Regions from separate parts of the Homo sapiens genome. Here all the other regions are linked to region 1. The links are contacts of gene promoters, found by promoter capture Hi-C in blood cells and fetal thymus (Javierre and others, 2016). All regions are on one chromosome and are shown on one strand. Each heading gives the region's core, a stretch centred on a gene start or on the middle of the fragment in contact. The rest is flanking DNA. Distances are from core to core; before and after follow the strand shown.

Region 1 (4,512 bases), core at 964-3,463:
ATTTTTAGTAGAGATGGGGTTTCCCGTGTTGGCCAGGCTGGTCTCGAACTCCTGACCTCAAGTAATCCACCCACCTCAGCCTCTCAAAGTGCTGGGATTACAGGCGTGAGCCACCGCACCCGGCCACATTTACCACATTCTAACAGGCCACATAATTTGCTTATTTATTTTATTACCTGACACATGTAATCCGTACAAGGGCTAGAGTTTTCATATGTTTTATTCACTGATGGATCCCCAGTGGGTAGAACAAGACTTGGCATGTACTAGGCACTTACACATACTTATGGAATGAATAAATAAATAGTATAGTAGATTGCAAACCAACAATTTGTGGAATTAAGTAGGAATAAAAATACAACTATGTGAAGATCATTTACTATGTTAATATAATTACATGGTACAGTGGAAAGATCATGGGGTGGCTGGGTGCGGTTGATCACGCCTGTAATCCCAACACTTTGGGAGGCTGAGGTGGATGGATTACTAGAGGTCAGGAGTTCGAGACCAGCCTGGCCAACATGGGAAAACCCATCTCTACTAAAGTTACAAAATTTAGCTGGGCGTGGTGGTGTGTGCCTGTAGTCCCAGCTACTTGGGAGGCTGAGGCAGGAGAATCACTTGAACCTGGGAGGCAGAGGTTGCAGTGAGCCAATCACGCCACTGCACTCCAGCCTGGATGATAGAGGGAGACTCTGTCTCAAAAAAAAGAAAAAAAAAAAAAGTAAAAAGAAAAGTGATTACCAAGACAACTACCACAGACTGGGAATTTCTGAAAAGCCTCAACTTTTCTTTTCTTTTTTTTTTTTTTGAGACAGCGTCTAGTTCCGTTGTCCAGGCTGGAGTGCAGTGGTGCAATCTCGACTCACTGCAACCTCTGCCTCCTGGGCTCAAGCCATACTCCTACCTCAGCCTCCTGAGTAGCTGGGACCGCAGGCCCGCACCACCATGCCAGCTAATTTTTTGTATTTTTAATAGAGACGGGGTTTCACTATGTTCGTCAGGCTGGTTTCCAACTCCTGACCTCTAATGATCCTTCCGCCTCGGCCTCCCAAAGTGCTGGAATTACAGGCGTGAGCCACCACGCCTGGCCTCAATTTCTTAAAAAGCAAAAACAGGAGGGAGGAGGAGGGTATGCAGTATCCTAAATCCTCAGAACCCCTGGGGAAGAACCTCATTCCAACTCCACCAGCACTCCCAGGCCCAGGCTTCTAGCATGCTTCCGACCTCGCTAGCTGCTAAATAAATAGCTATTGAGGAATGTGTATTCTCAAATACTTAGGCTAGAGGGCTAAGAAAAGACAGCTTCCATCTACCTCTGTGGGACTCTACCAGTGTGAAAGGATACTCTCAAGGTATTTAACAACTCCCATTACAGTCCAGAAATTGGTGGGGAAAGTTAAAATATATTTTCTTTTCTTTTTTTTTTTTGAGACGGTGTTTTTGCTCTGTTGCCTGAGCTGGAGTGCAGTGGCTCACGCTTGTAATCCCAGCACTTTGGGAGGCCAAGGCGGGCGATCATGAGGTCGGGGGTTTGAGACCAGCCTAGCCAACACAGTGAAACCCCGTCTCTACTAAAAATACAAAAGTTAGCTGGGCACGGTGGCGAGCGCCTGTAATCCCAGCTACTCGGGAGGCTGAGGCAGGATAATCGCTTGAACCCGGGAGGCGGAGGTTGCAGTCAGCCGAGATCCACTGCACCCCAGCCTGAGCGACAGACTCCATCTCAGAAAAAAACAAGCAAACAAAAACAAAACAAACAAACAAACAAAAACAAGAAAAGAAAAGTTAGCCGAGCATGGTGGGGCACGTCTGTGGTCCTAGCTATTCGGGAGGCTGAGGTGGAAGGATTGCTTGAGCCCGGGAGGTCAAGGCTGCAGTGAGCTGAGATCATGCCTCTGCCCTCCAGCCTGGCCGAGAGTGAGACTGTCTCAAAAAAAAAATAATAATAATAACATAAAAATAAGAAATAAGAGTGAAAGAGGCATCATTGATTGAAGATAACTTGGGGAGGGGTTCATATAGTAAACGTATAGATTGATTGAAAGACACAGCCCAGTTTTAAAACTACATAAATATCCAAAAAAGCACATTTGAAATTCCACGAGACCTTGCAATGTCAAAATAAGGAGGGACGGGAAGCACGGTGATCACACAATGGCTTATGACATACACTCACTACATTTATACCTGGTACAAAGAGCGCAGAAACGTTTCAACTCTTGCTTGAATCAAGAACAGAAGCCTCTCTTTAGACAGGTCAGTGCCACATAGTAATGTATAGCTTAAAATGTTAGTTAATGTACAAAAATCCAAACTCAGCGTTTAGATGTTCGGGAATAATGCATGAACATTTAAATATTCAGAAGTGGAATGTATGCATTTTTAAAGTTTATTTTATGATTTAATTTTAAAAATTTGTTTTAATGTGAAATTCTGGGGTAATTTGTCATGTAGTAATAGATACAAATATGGCAAGCAGGGATTTTTAAATAATGAACAGAAATATCTTAAAGGAGCTATTGGAAAAGATGGAAAGAAAGTGTGAACAACTTGGGAATTTCAGTGTCTTACAGTTTTTTTAAAGCTTGTTATAGTTTAAATCGGAATAAGGAAGCGTATTTCCAAAAGATTGAAGTGATTGTGTTATCTCTCCCACGAAGTAGTCTACTTCAGCAAAACAGTACACCGTGTGCTATTTTGGCCTCTTGGGAAAGATGGTATGTTCAAGTTTGCTAGAAAGAGATAATTATCGCTTTTAGCGACACCTCTCACGGAAAGTTCATCGGGATATTGGTCTAGAGAGAAAATGGCGGCGGGGGGTGGGGGTGGGGGAAGCCGAAATACCTCAGTTTAGGATCTGCTATGGGCAATGGATGCCCTAATTTAAGGTTAATTGTAGATCCACGGGCTTCCAACTGTGTATTTCCGTCATCTACACTTTTCCCAGAAAGAGATGCCATAATAAATTTACAAAACAGTCCTATAGTCTAGTTTTATATTCTTGTCAAGAAAAGGTAATATTTAAAAAGTACTAGCTAGAATTCTATAAAAAACGAACAACAAAAATCACTGCCCTCTGAATGTTCGTTCTTGATTATTTTGACGCAAGTAGAGACAGCTTTTTTAAATCCGGCATTATCTCCGGGTGGTGCAGACATGCAATTTTTTATGAATTTTCCCACCCTTGGGAAATCGATTTCTGAAACGTGTAATTGTTGTGCAGTAAGCCAAGTGGACAGTGACGCAATAGTCCACTGCAAGTTGCCTTACAAAAAATGATGTCATTTGGCGCAGATCTAGTCACTTTTATAACAGGTAGCTATGGAAAAGCTCCCTCCACGTTGTCCCCGATTCCCCCACCCCCACCGTGGCCAAGATGCAAAAAGACACTTTCCTGGCTTCCTAGCCCTCAACTTGTCGAGGGTGGGCGCACCGCAGTGGCTCAGGGCCCATCGCTCGTGCAGGCGGAGAGAGACCGCTGCAAGGGGACGAGGACAGCTGAGTGTCCTCAGCCCCGACGGCGGCGCCGCGGGGGAAGCTGCGTCGGGCCCAGTCCAGGGCCGCGACGCCCGGCCGCCTGTTTTCCTCGGTGGGAAACCGCTGGCGTGGCGGGCCGGCAGCCGGGACGCGGGGCGCCGCGGGCGCGGGACAGCCTTCCCCGCCCCCCCTTCCCCCCCGTTCCCACACCCGCTCCCGCTCCCGTGGCGCCGGAAGTGACGCGTTTTGGGCTGAAAGATGGCGGCATTGGCGCTCGACCAGGGGGAAGGTAAACACCCGCCAGGCCACGGGCTGGCCCCCTCGGGGCGCCAGCAGGGGCCGAGGGGGGGGCCTCCCGGGCCAGCTCCCCGCCCCCAACGGCTTCCCACCCTCCGCCCTCTCTCCCAGCGTGGCGGCCTTCCGCGTCAAGACGACAGCGCACTGGGCCCCCTGCCGGCCAGCCCCGCCTCCCTGGGCGGGCCCCGGGCGGCTCCCGCGGCCCGCAGGGGGCGCGCGGCCCGGAGCGGCCCCCGGCTCGTGGCCCCGCACGCCCCGCCCCTTCCCCGCCCCTTTCCCGCCTTCCTCCACCCCCGGCGTGGGTGATCCCGAGGCTCGGCGCGCTTCGGGGCAGAAGCCCAGAGACGCCGTCCTCGACGCTTCCTCGGCTGGTGCTTCTGTCTCTGCCTGCTGCCCCCCAGCCCTTTTCCCCGCCCGCGGCCCCAGTCGGCCCTCCCGCCGAGCCCCGTCGGGTGCTGCGAGGCCCCCGGCGTTGGCAAGGTCGGTCCGGGCCCCGACGCCGCGCCGCCTCGTGCGGAGCCCGACTGTCTGGTTTCTCGACTCAGCGCTGTCTTCTTTCCCAGGACTTATCCAGAGGGGGCTGCAGGCGAGCACTCTCGTGCCCCGCCGGAGCGACCCGGCTCGTGCCGGGAGCGGCTGCTCGTAGACGTCCGAGGAGCCTGCCGAGTGCCGTCCCGGCGCCCGACCGCCCACCCATCGGCCCGCTGGCCCGGTTCTTCCTGATGCAGACTGCCG
Region 2 (4,512 bases), core at 1,449-3,948, 110 kb after region 1:
TATGTCAGAGCATGTAAAGAATTGGTAATGAAATGGATCACATAGGATGTAAGACCCACACTTTGGTGTACTCACAACTATTCTCATACCTGTGTAAGACTGAATACAGAATGGGAGATGAGAGCTACTCTCATGGCAACTTTTAGCCACAGAGTCATGCCTCGGTTTCTTCACATAACAAATGTAAATAAGAATAACACATTTACTTTGTAATTAAGTTCTGAGAAGTTACAAGAATTTAAAAAATCCATATCTAAGATTTCCTCATATTAACTAAGTACTTCTTGAAATAAATCAGCATAGATACATTACCTGAATCTAATTTTACACTGCATAGTAGGATCCTTAATAAGCTTAGCCTCTAAGGGGGCCACTTTCTTCAGTATTTCATGTGTTACATAGAATTCCTGAAATAAAGGACAGTGCTGTAAAAGGAAAGCAGTATCCCACCCAGACACAATTTATGGACTATAACAGAGGCAACGTGGTAAAGTGAACATTATGCTGGACTTGGAGTTCTGAAGGGGTGGGTTTTTGTTTTGGCACCTCCACTTACTATCTGTGTAGCCTTGAGCCAGTTACTTAATCATTTTGGCCTCCAACTTTGGTTATCTGTCCCTTTTAGAGATCAAAGGCACTATTATTTCCCTATGACAGCACTTTTCACAATATATTATAATTACTTATCAACTTGTCTGTGCCTCCTACTAGACTGTAAGCTTCATGAAGGTAGGGATGGTGGCTTTTCTCTTTACCACTATATTCCTAGCATCTAATACAGTGCCTGGAACACAGCAGATGCTTAAGAAGTATTTGTTGAATGAATCACTGTAAGATGAGGATGATAATAGTAATAAGTTACTAGCTTTTAAGCACCTTTTATGTACCATATACTACTATGTTAGGTGCCTTATATACATTAGCTCATTTAATCCTTACATCAGCAACACTATGAGAATTTTTTGTTTGTTTTGAGACAGAGTCTCGCTCCGTCGCCCAGGCTCGAGTGCGGTGGCATGATCTCGGCTCACTGCAACCTCCGCCTCCCAGGTTCAAGCGATTCTCCTGCCTCAGCCTCCCGAGTAGCTGGGACTACAGGCACCTGCCACCACGCCCGGCTAATTTTGTATTTTTTCAGTAGAGACGGGGTTTCACCATATTGGCCAGGCTGGCCTGGAACTCCTGACCTTGTGAGCCGCACGCCTCAGCCTCCCAAAGTGCTGGGATTACAGGTGTGAGCCACCACTCAGGCTGCAGTGCAATGGCATGATCTCGGCTCACCGCAACCTCCACCTCCCAGGTTCAAGTGATTCTCCTGCTCAGCCTCCTGAGTAGCTGGAATTACAGGCATGCGCCACCATGCCTGGCTAATTTTGTATTTTTAATAGAGATGGGGTTTCTTCATGTTGGTCAGGCTGGTCTCGAGCTCCCGACTTCAGGTGATCCACCCGCCTCAGCCTCCCAAAGTGCTGGGATTACAGGCGTGAGCCACTGCACCTGGCCCATTATGAGAATATTATCACGCCTATTTTACAGATGAGAAGGCTGAGGCTCAGGGAATTTTTGTAATTTATAAAAAGGCATACAGGTAGTGAATGGGGAAGCCAGGATTCATTTAGTTCTGTTTGACTCTAAAGTCCCAACTCTTTCCCCCAAACAACCCCAACCAACCCCGTTATGCCTATGATAATCACATAAAAATGTACACTAAAGAGCTTTTAGGCTGGGCACTGCGGCTCACGCCTATAATCCTGGCACTTTGGGAGGCCAAAGCGGGAGGATCACCTGAGGTCAAGAGTTCGAGACCAACCTGGTCAACATGGTGAAACCCCATCTCTACTAAAAATACAAAAATTAGCCAGGCGTGATGGCAGGCGCCTGTAGTCCAAGCTATTTGGGAGGCTGAAGCAGGAGAATCGCTTGAACCCGGGAGGCAGAGGTTGCAGTGAGCCGAGATCGTGCCACTGCACTCCAGCCTGGGTGACAGAGCAAGACTCTGTCTCAAAATAAATAAATAAATAGCTTTTAAAAGGACAAAGCATTATTAATTTAAGGTATTAAAGTATTACTATAACAGATAAAAAAGAATTTCCTTCTGTTACAAAAGTCTAAAAATACTATGAAACCAGCATTATAAAATTAAATACAAGTTCCATATTCAAAGACAATGGATAATAGACCTGAAATGCCAGGAGTTTACCTGGGTGGGTTTTCTCTGAAGTATTCAGACGGAGTCTTGCTCTGTCGCCCAGGCTGGAGTGCAGTGGCTCAAACTCGGCTCACTATAACCTCCACCTCCCCGGTTCAAGGTAGCTGGGATTACAGGCGCACACCACCATGCCCGGCTAATTTTTTTGTATTTTTAGTAGAGACGGGGTTTCACCATGTTGACCGGACTGGTCTCGAACTCCTGACCTCAGGCAATCCACCCGCCTCGGCCTCCTAAAGATCCCAGCTCACGCTGGGATTACAGGTGTGAGCCACTGTGCCCAGCCGTATTCTGCTTTTACTGACATCAGAAATAGGTCTGTGGGTCAGATGGTGAACGGTGTATACATTGCTCAGACTTTATTATTTTTTTCAGAGCTGCTAAAATTCCCTTAAGAGTATCACTAATTGGCCGGGTGTGGTGGCTCACGCCTGTAATCCCAGCACTTTGGGAGGCCAAGGAGGGTGGATCACCTGAGGTCAGGAGTTTGAGACCAGCCTGGCTAACATGGTGAAACCCTGTCTCTACTAAAAGTACAAAAAAAAAAAAATTAGCTGGGCATGGCGGCACGCACCTGTAGTCCCAGCTACTAGGGAGGCGGAGGCAGGATAATCACTTGAACCTGGGTGGTGGAGGTTGCAGTGAGCCAAGATCATGCCACTGCACTCCAGCCTGGGCAACAGAGTGAGACTTCATCTCAAAAAAGAAAAGAAAAAAAAGAGTATCACTAATAATAGACTACTGGATTTATAGGTTGTTTTATTAGAATATTTGGTACTATGCCAAGGAAGGCTCTGCTAGGGTTGCCAGAGTTGCTTTCTGGAGGAGGGGGGATATGCACCTTTTTTTTTTGGTTTTGGTTTTCACTCAAGTAGGATCATGCTCTTCATACTGTCTGGTGCTTGCTTTTTTAACTGATGAGCTATCTTCATTTCCTTTCTATTGCAGAATCATGTTAAAGCTGCAAAGTTTAACACTATAAAAGCAGCAACACTTATTTAACCAGCATCATATCAATAGATATTATACAGTTTACTCCCTTTGCTGTTACAAACAACGGTGCAATCAAATTGTGTATGTATTGTAGAACAGATTCTTAGAAGTAAAATTGCTGGATAAAAGGTAAGGGAACTTTTAATTCAGAGCTTTTTGAAGGGGGACAGAGTCTCACTGTCGCCCAGGCTGGAATGTAGTGGCGCAATCTCCGCTCACCATAACCTCCACCTCCTGGGTTCAAGCAATTCTCCTGCCTCAGCCTCCCAAGTAGCTGTGACTACAGGCTCATGCCACCACGCCTGGCTATTTTTTTGTATTTTAGTAGAGACAGGGTTTCTCAATGTTGGCCAAACTGGTCTCGAACTCCTGGCCCTCCCTGCCTTGGCCTCCCAAAGTGCTGGGATTACAGGCGTGAGATGCTGCACCTTGCAGATTCGGAGCTTTTTATTGTTGGAAGAGAACTGTCTCACATTTTCAAATAAGGAATCAAATTTAAAAACAAAACAAGGCAAGCAGTATATTAATTTCAGAAAAAAGTAATAGTCATCCACATTTTAAAAAATCCAGAAATACTCATCTAGGGCTAACAGAAGAAACAATTCCAGAACTCCACGTGATATTATTAGATCCAAATAGAAGAGATAAAGAAAGGGCCGGGCGTGGTGGCTCACGCCTGTAATCCCAGCACTTTGGGAGGCCAAGGCAGGCAGATCACGAGGTCAGGAGATCGAGATCATCCTGGCTAACATGGTGAAACCCCATCGCTACTAAAAATACAAAACATTAGCCAGGCATGGTGACAGGTGCCTGTAGTCCCAGCTACTTGGGAGGCTGAAGCAGAAGAATCGCTTGAACCTGGGAGGCAGAGGTTGCAGTGAGCCAAGATTGTGCCACTGCACTCCAGCCTGGGTGAAAGAGCCAGACTCCCTCTCAAAAAAAAAAAAAAAAGAGGAGATAAAGAAGGTTATCTATTCGATCTTTAATTAATAGATCTTTTAGCTTGATAATTAAATCCCTCAGAGAAAAAAATAAGCAAAATACATACCGCTGCACAAATTGCGTGTTTTAGGAGTCGAAATATCATTTTGTTTGTATGAGATAACCAAGCCCTCTGTATTATTTGAGCTGAAATGTCTTTAAGCATTCTGAGAGAAAAAAAGAGGTTAATATTTATAAAGTAGTTTTCATTTTCCTAAAACCTTAGAGAACTATCAATTTATGCTTCCTCCTCCTGTACCTCCCCATCCCCCACTCTAAGACTGACCTAATGAGGAACATTTGGATGTGGTAATTGGAAGTGGTCATTT
Region 3 (4,512 bases), core at 616-3,115, 77 kb after region 1:
CGGAAATGCTAATCCAACGTCTTTTAACACTGGAGGTGTTTTATTCATAGAAATCTGTAATAATTATTGATCCAAAATATGCTTAGGTTGTATTTGATTCTTTCTTAATAGCCTATGATGGAACTGTATAATTTTTGGTATTTATTTTTTTCACTCTGGTCCATAACCACCATATCTTGATATTTTTCCCTTTTAGAAGTTTCTCATAGCTCTGCAAATGTTGGAGAATTTTGAAGAATATAATTTGACAGGTTAATTTGAATGCTAAAGATTGTCATAATTTAATATTACCAGGGAGAAATGAATATTCACTTTTCCAAAAATATAGAAGGAAATGACTTACTCTTGGAGAACTTTAAAAAATAATATGCATGAATATTTTAAACTTAATGTGATTTCTATGAATCATAGCCAATATAATACTGTAAATTTATAGATCAGGGTTGAAAATTTTTGGACTTTGGACGATCTTCACTCTTTCACATCTTCCTGGTCCAGAAATCTGAGCAACTCACCTTACTTACAAACAAAGACTTAATAGAGGTGAAGTAAGTTTTCATGTTTCTAAAACTTCATTAATTGTATAAACAGTATATACATTCACCAGTACATTATGAAAATAAGCTACAAAACAATTGTAACTTAAGCCACACTTAAAATACTTTAGCCAAATACTGTTTATGAAAAGGAAGCCTTGATGTTTGCTTTCAAGCAAATCAACATTTCTTCAAGTTGTCAATATTATTCTACAAATAATTAGCATTGGTTAGGGAGACTGTGTTATTGGTCCACCATAGGAAAAAGTGATAGAGAGTATCAGGTTATAGAATCTTATTATTCTGTGTCCTTTTCATTTTATTTTATTTTTATTTTTTTTGAGAGAGTCTCACTCTTGTCACCCAGGCTGGAGTGCTGTGGCACGATCTTGGCTCACTGCAACTTCTGCTTCCTGGGTTCAACCAATTTTCCTGCCTCAGCCTCCCAAGCAGCTGGGATTACAAGCACCCGCCACCATGCCTGGCTAATTTTTTTTTTTTTTTTTTTTTTTGTATTTTTAGTAGAGACAAGGTTTCACCATGTTCGCGAGGCTGGTCTCGATCCGCTGACCTCAGGTGATCCGTCCGCCTCGGCCTCCCAAAGTGTTGGGATTACAGGCTTGAGACACTGCACCCAGCCTTCGGTGTCCTTTTTAAACTTAAGGTTCTGATAATTTAGAAATATGTAGTAAAATTTATTCCTCTTCTTTTTAAAAATCCTTGATTGCTGAATTCCTGCAAATTGTTCCTACAAAATTTGTAATCATTGTCAGTGGTGCTTGGTCAATGCACCATTGTTAAAACCAGCCTTGAAAAATAGACAACCTTTTGTATACAAGTGGTTATGCAGTTAATAATTTCTTCAGAAAGGCACTGCTACACTATTTCTGTGCTATTATGAGGAGTCTCTTTGTCAGTTAATATGTATTTCACCCACACATTTTTTGAGCTATCTCCTGAGTTGATGACCAAGCTAATGGCATAGAGTAAACCGTAACAATTTGTCCCCCGAGAAGATCCTGTCAAGTTGCCTAAAATGATAAATGTCCTTAATAATTACTTCATATTTTTATCCTATTCAGGCATGTAGTAGATATTCAACATATATTTACTGAATTGGTATTTTTGTTGTTGTCACTGTTTTTAATAATAAAGAATTAGTCTCTTAAGGCCAGACACAGTGGCTCACACCTATAATCCCAATACCTTGGGAGGCTGAGGTGGCCCGATCGCTTGAGCTCAGGAGTTCAAGACCAGCCTGGGCAACATGGTGAAACCCTGCCTCTACGAAAAATACAAACATCAGCCGGGCATGGTGGCACAGCCTGTAGTTCCAGCTACTCGGGAGGCTGAGGTGGGAGGATTGCTTGAGCCTGAGAGGTGGAGGTTGCAGTGAGCCGAGATCATGCCACTGCACTCCAGCCTGGGCGACAGAGTGAGAACTTGTCTCAAAAAAAAAAAAAAAAAAGGAAGAAGAAGAAAAGAATGATTCTCTAGATCCAATTTACAGGAAATACAGAGGACAGAGTTACGTGTTAGCTACACCAAGGAATTCAATCAGCAAAGTCTAGATCATGGGAAATGTTACAGAATGAATGATCCAGTTTAATTAACAAATTGTAATGGGGGAGAAAAAAAGAGGTGGATAGGGAACCTACAGATTAAAAAGAAATAAAAACCATATAAAAAAAGAGGCAAAATTAAACTACATTGTGTATGGGTGCATGCTTAGGTGAGGAAACTATAAAAGAATGAGGTGATTACCATAAAAGCCAGGAGAATAGTTACTCTTAAGAGACGAGGTGCAGGGCCAGGTAGAGGGTTTCTGGGGTGGTCAGGTATGACTCTTTCTTCTGACGTGGATGGTAGTTACTAAGGTGTCTTGCCTTACAATAATGCATTCAACTGTAAAATCATTTTATATGATTTTCTATAGATGTGTTATACTTTTAAAAGTTTAATACACAACAAGAAATATATACATATATATGTTTTCAAATTACCAACATGACGTCACAACAGTTGGCAAGAGATGTCTAGTAGCACATCACTCTACAGCATTTCCACCATACAGATACAATAGATATAAATAGAATCGGCCGGGCACAGTGGCTCACACCTGTAATTCCAGCACTTTGGGAGGCCGAGGCAGGCACATCACAAGGTCAGGAGTTCGAGACCAGCCTGGCCGATATAGTGAAACTCCGTCTCTGCTAAAAATACAAAAATTAGCCGGGCGTGGTGGTGGGTGCCTGTAGTCCTAGCTTTTCAGGAGGCTGAGGCAGGAGAATCGCTTGAACCCGAGAGGGGGAGGTTGCAGTGAGGCGAGATCACACCATTGCACTCCAGCCTGGGCAACAAGAGCGAAACTCCATCTCAAAAAAAAAATAGAATCAAGAACTCATATCATAGAATGTAAAATGTAGAATCATTAGAATGATTCTCCTTAAATAATAATTAAAATAATTAGAAGCGATACTTTTTGAGAAGTTTTACCTGTGATTTTAATACAGGTTACCTAAGTAAACTATACAATTACGAGTTTATACAATTCATTTTTTTTTCTTTTTGAGACAGTGTCTGGCTCTGTCACTCAAGCTGGAGTGCAGTGGCACGATCTCAGCTTACTGCAGCCTCTGCCTCCCAGGCTCAAGCGATCCTCCGACTTCAGCCTCCCACGCAGCTGGGACTACAGGCATGTGCCACCATGCCCAGCTAATTTAAAAAAAAATTTTTGTAGAGATGGAGTTTTGCCATGTTGCCCAGGCTGGTCTCAAACTCCTGTGCTCAAGTGATCCACCTGTCTCGGCCTCCCAAAGCACTGGGATTACAGGCATGAGCCACTGTGCCTGACTACAGTTTAATTTTTAATAATGGCTATACTTACCAACCAGCTCACAAAATTCCTGAAAATTTAACAATGAATGTTAAAAATTTAACAACAGCAAGCTAAGTATGAGCCACTTTAGCACGCTCTTGTATTCATCCTAACAATTCCCCGACTTTCTTGTGTTTTTTAAATTTAGTTTTTAAAATCAAATGCATACTTGCAGTTTTAAAAATCAAATAGTTCTCCATTTTCTGATCCTCAGAGGCAACAGTTTCAAATATTTTATCTGATTCTTTTGGTATTGACCTCCATCTCTCAAAATTAGATACTTCTTGATTTTTCAGTTTTGGACATGGCTATAGACTGAATGATTGTGTTCCCACCCCCACCCCAATTCATATGTTGAAATTCTAACCTCCAGTGTGATGGTAGAGATGGGGCCTTTGGAAAGTGATTTAGGTCACTAGGGTAGCACTCTCATGAATGGGATTAGTGCCCTCATAAGAGACCCCACTTGCCCTTTTCTGTCATGGGAAAAGACAGCCACCTATGAGCCAGGAAGCAAGCCCTCACCAGACTCTGAATCTGCCAGTGCCTTGATTTTGGACTTCTCAGCCTCCAGAATTGTGAGAAGTTTCTGTTGTTTATAAACTGCCCCGTTTATGGTAGTCTGTTATAGCAGCCTAAACAGACTAAGACAGACATCATTTACTGACTTTACATTATGAGACGTAAGGATTAAATTCTCTCTCATTCCCTACCCAGCTACACACATACACATTTCCTATCCCTCCAGGTTTCACATATGGTTATATTCTAATTTTAGTTAGATCAGTAAAGGAAAATGCTATTTACTGTTCAAATGTGTAATATACTATGATTATTCTTCCTTTCCAACTTTTTGGTTTTTTTCTGAAGCTAATAACTGTTCTGGGTTTTTTTTTTTTCTCATTTTTTCCCATTTGTTTGGTTTCCTAAGTCCATATCCTCAGACTTTCTCTCACTCGGGTAAATCTTTCATATTCAAACATACTAGGTTTATGAGTTCATCTACCTAAAAAGTCTCTTCTGGAACCATCTGGTCTGCTCCAATCTGGATTTGTTTCTCTAAGTCTGCTCAATGGCTGCTGTTTGGAGACTTTCTCA

Evidence for each region. The method cuts DNA at HindIII sites, captures the fragments that hold promoters and counts their contacts. A CHiCAGO score of 5 or more calls a contact.
Region 2: a contact is called between a fragment that was not itself captured here and the fragment with the promoter of KLHL15 in region 1, in 17 of 17 cell types (activated CD4 T cells, naive B cells, total B cells and 14 more). The highest score is 34.9, in activated CD4 T cells.
Region 3: a contact is called between a fragment that was not itself captured here and the fragment with the promoter of KLHL15 in region 1, in 5 of 17 cell types (activated CD4 T cells, total CD8 T cells, naive CD4 T cells and 2 more). The highest score is 9.2, in activated CD4 T cells.

What each region holds. Positions count from the first base shown.
Region 1 is chrX:24,024,887-24,029,398 of GRCh38, reverse strand. KLHL15 (kelch like family member 15) reads left to right here and starts at 2,213. Exons shown (of 4, transcript NM_030624.3): 1 at 2,213-2,259; 2 at 4,341-4,512. RefSeq lists enhancers at 1,134-1,633, 2,841-3,344, 3,345-3,849 and silencers at 3,512-3,611, 3,622-4,061, 4,142-4,211, 4,222-4,371, 4,382-4,461. The HindIII fragment of the contact is 3,234 bases long and covers 1-2,589 here.
Region 2 is chrX:23,911,595-23,916,106 of GRCh38, reverse strand. CXorf58 (chromosome X open reading frame 58) reads right to left here. Exons shown (of 9, transcript NM_152761.3): 3 at 4,251-4,350; 4 at 313-407. Among named protein-coding and RNA genes, the nearest start is that of CXorf58, 5.8 kb to the right of the region's middle. The HindIII fragment of the contact is 3,954 bases long and covers 722-4,512 here.
Region 3 is chrX:23,948,038-23,952,549 of GRCh38, reverse strand. No RefSeq gene overlaps it. Among named protein-coding and RNA genes, the nearest start is that of CXorf58, 42 kb to the right of the region's middle. The HindIII fragment of the contact is 8,514 bases long and covers 1-4,512 here.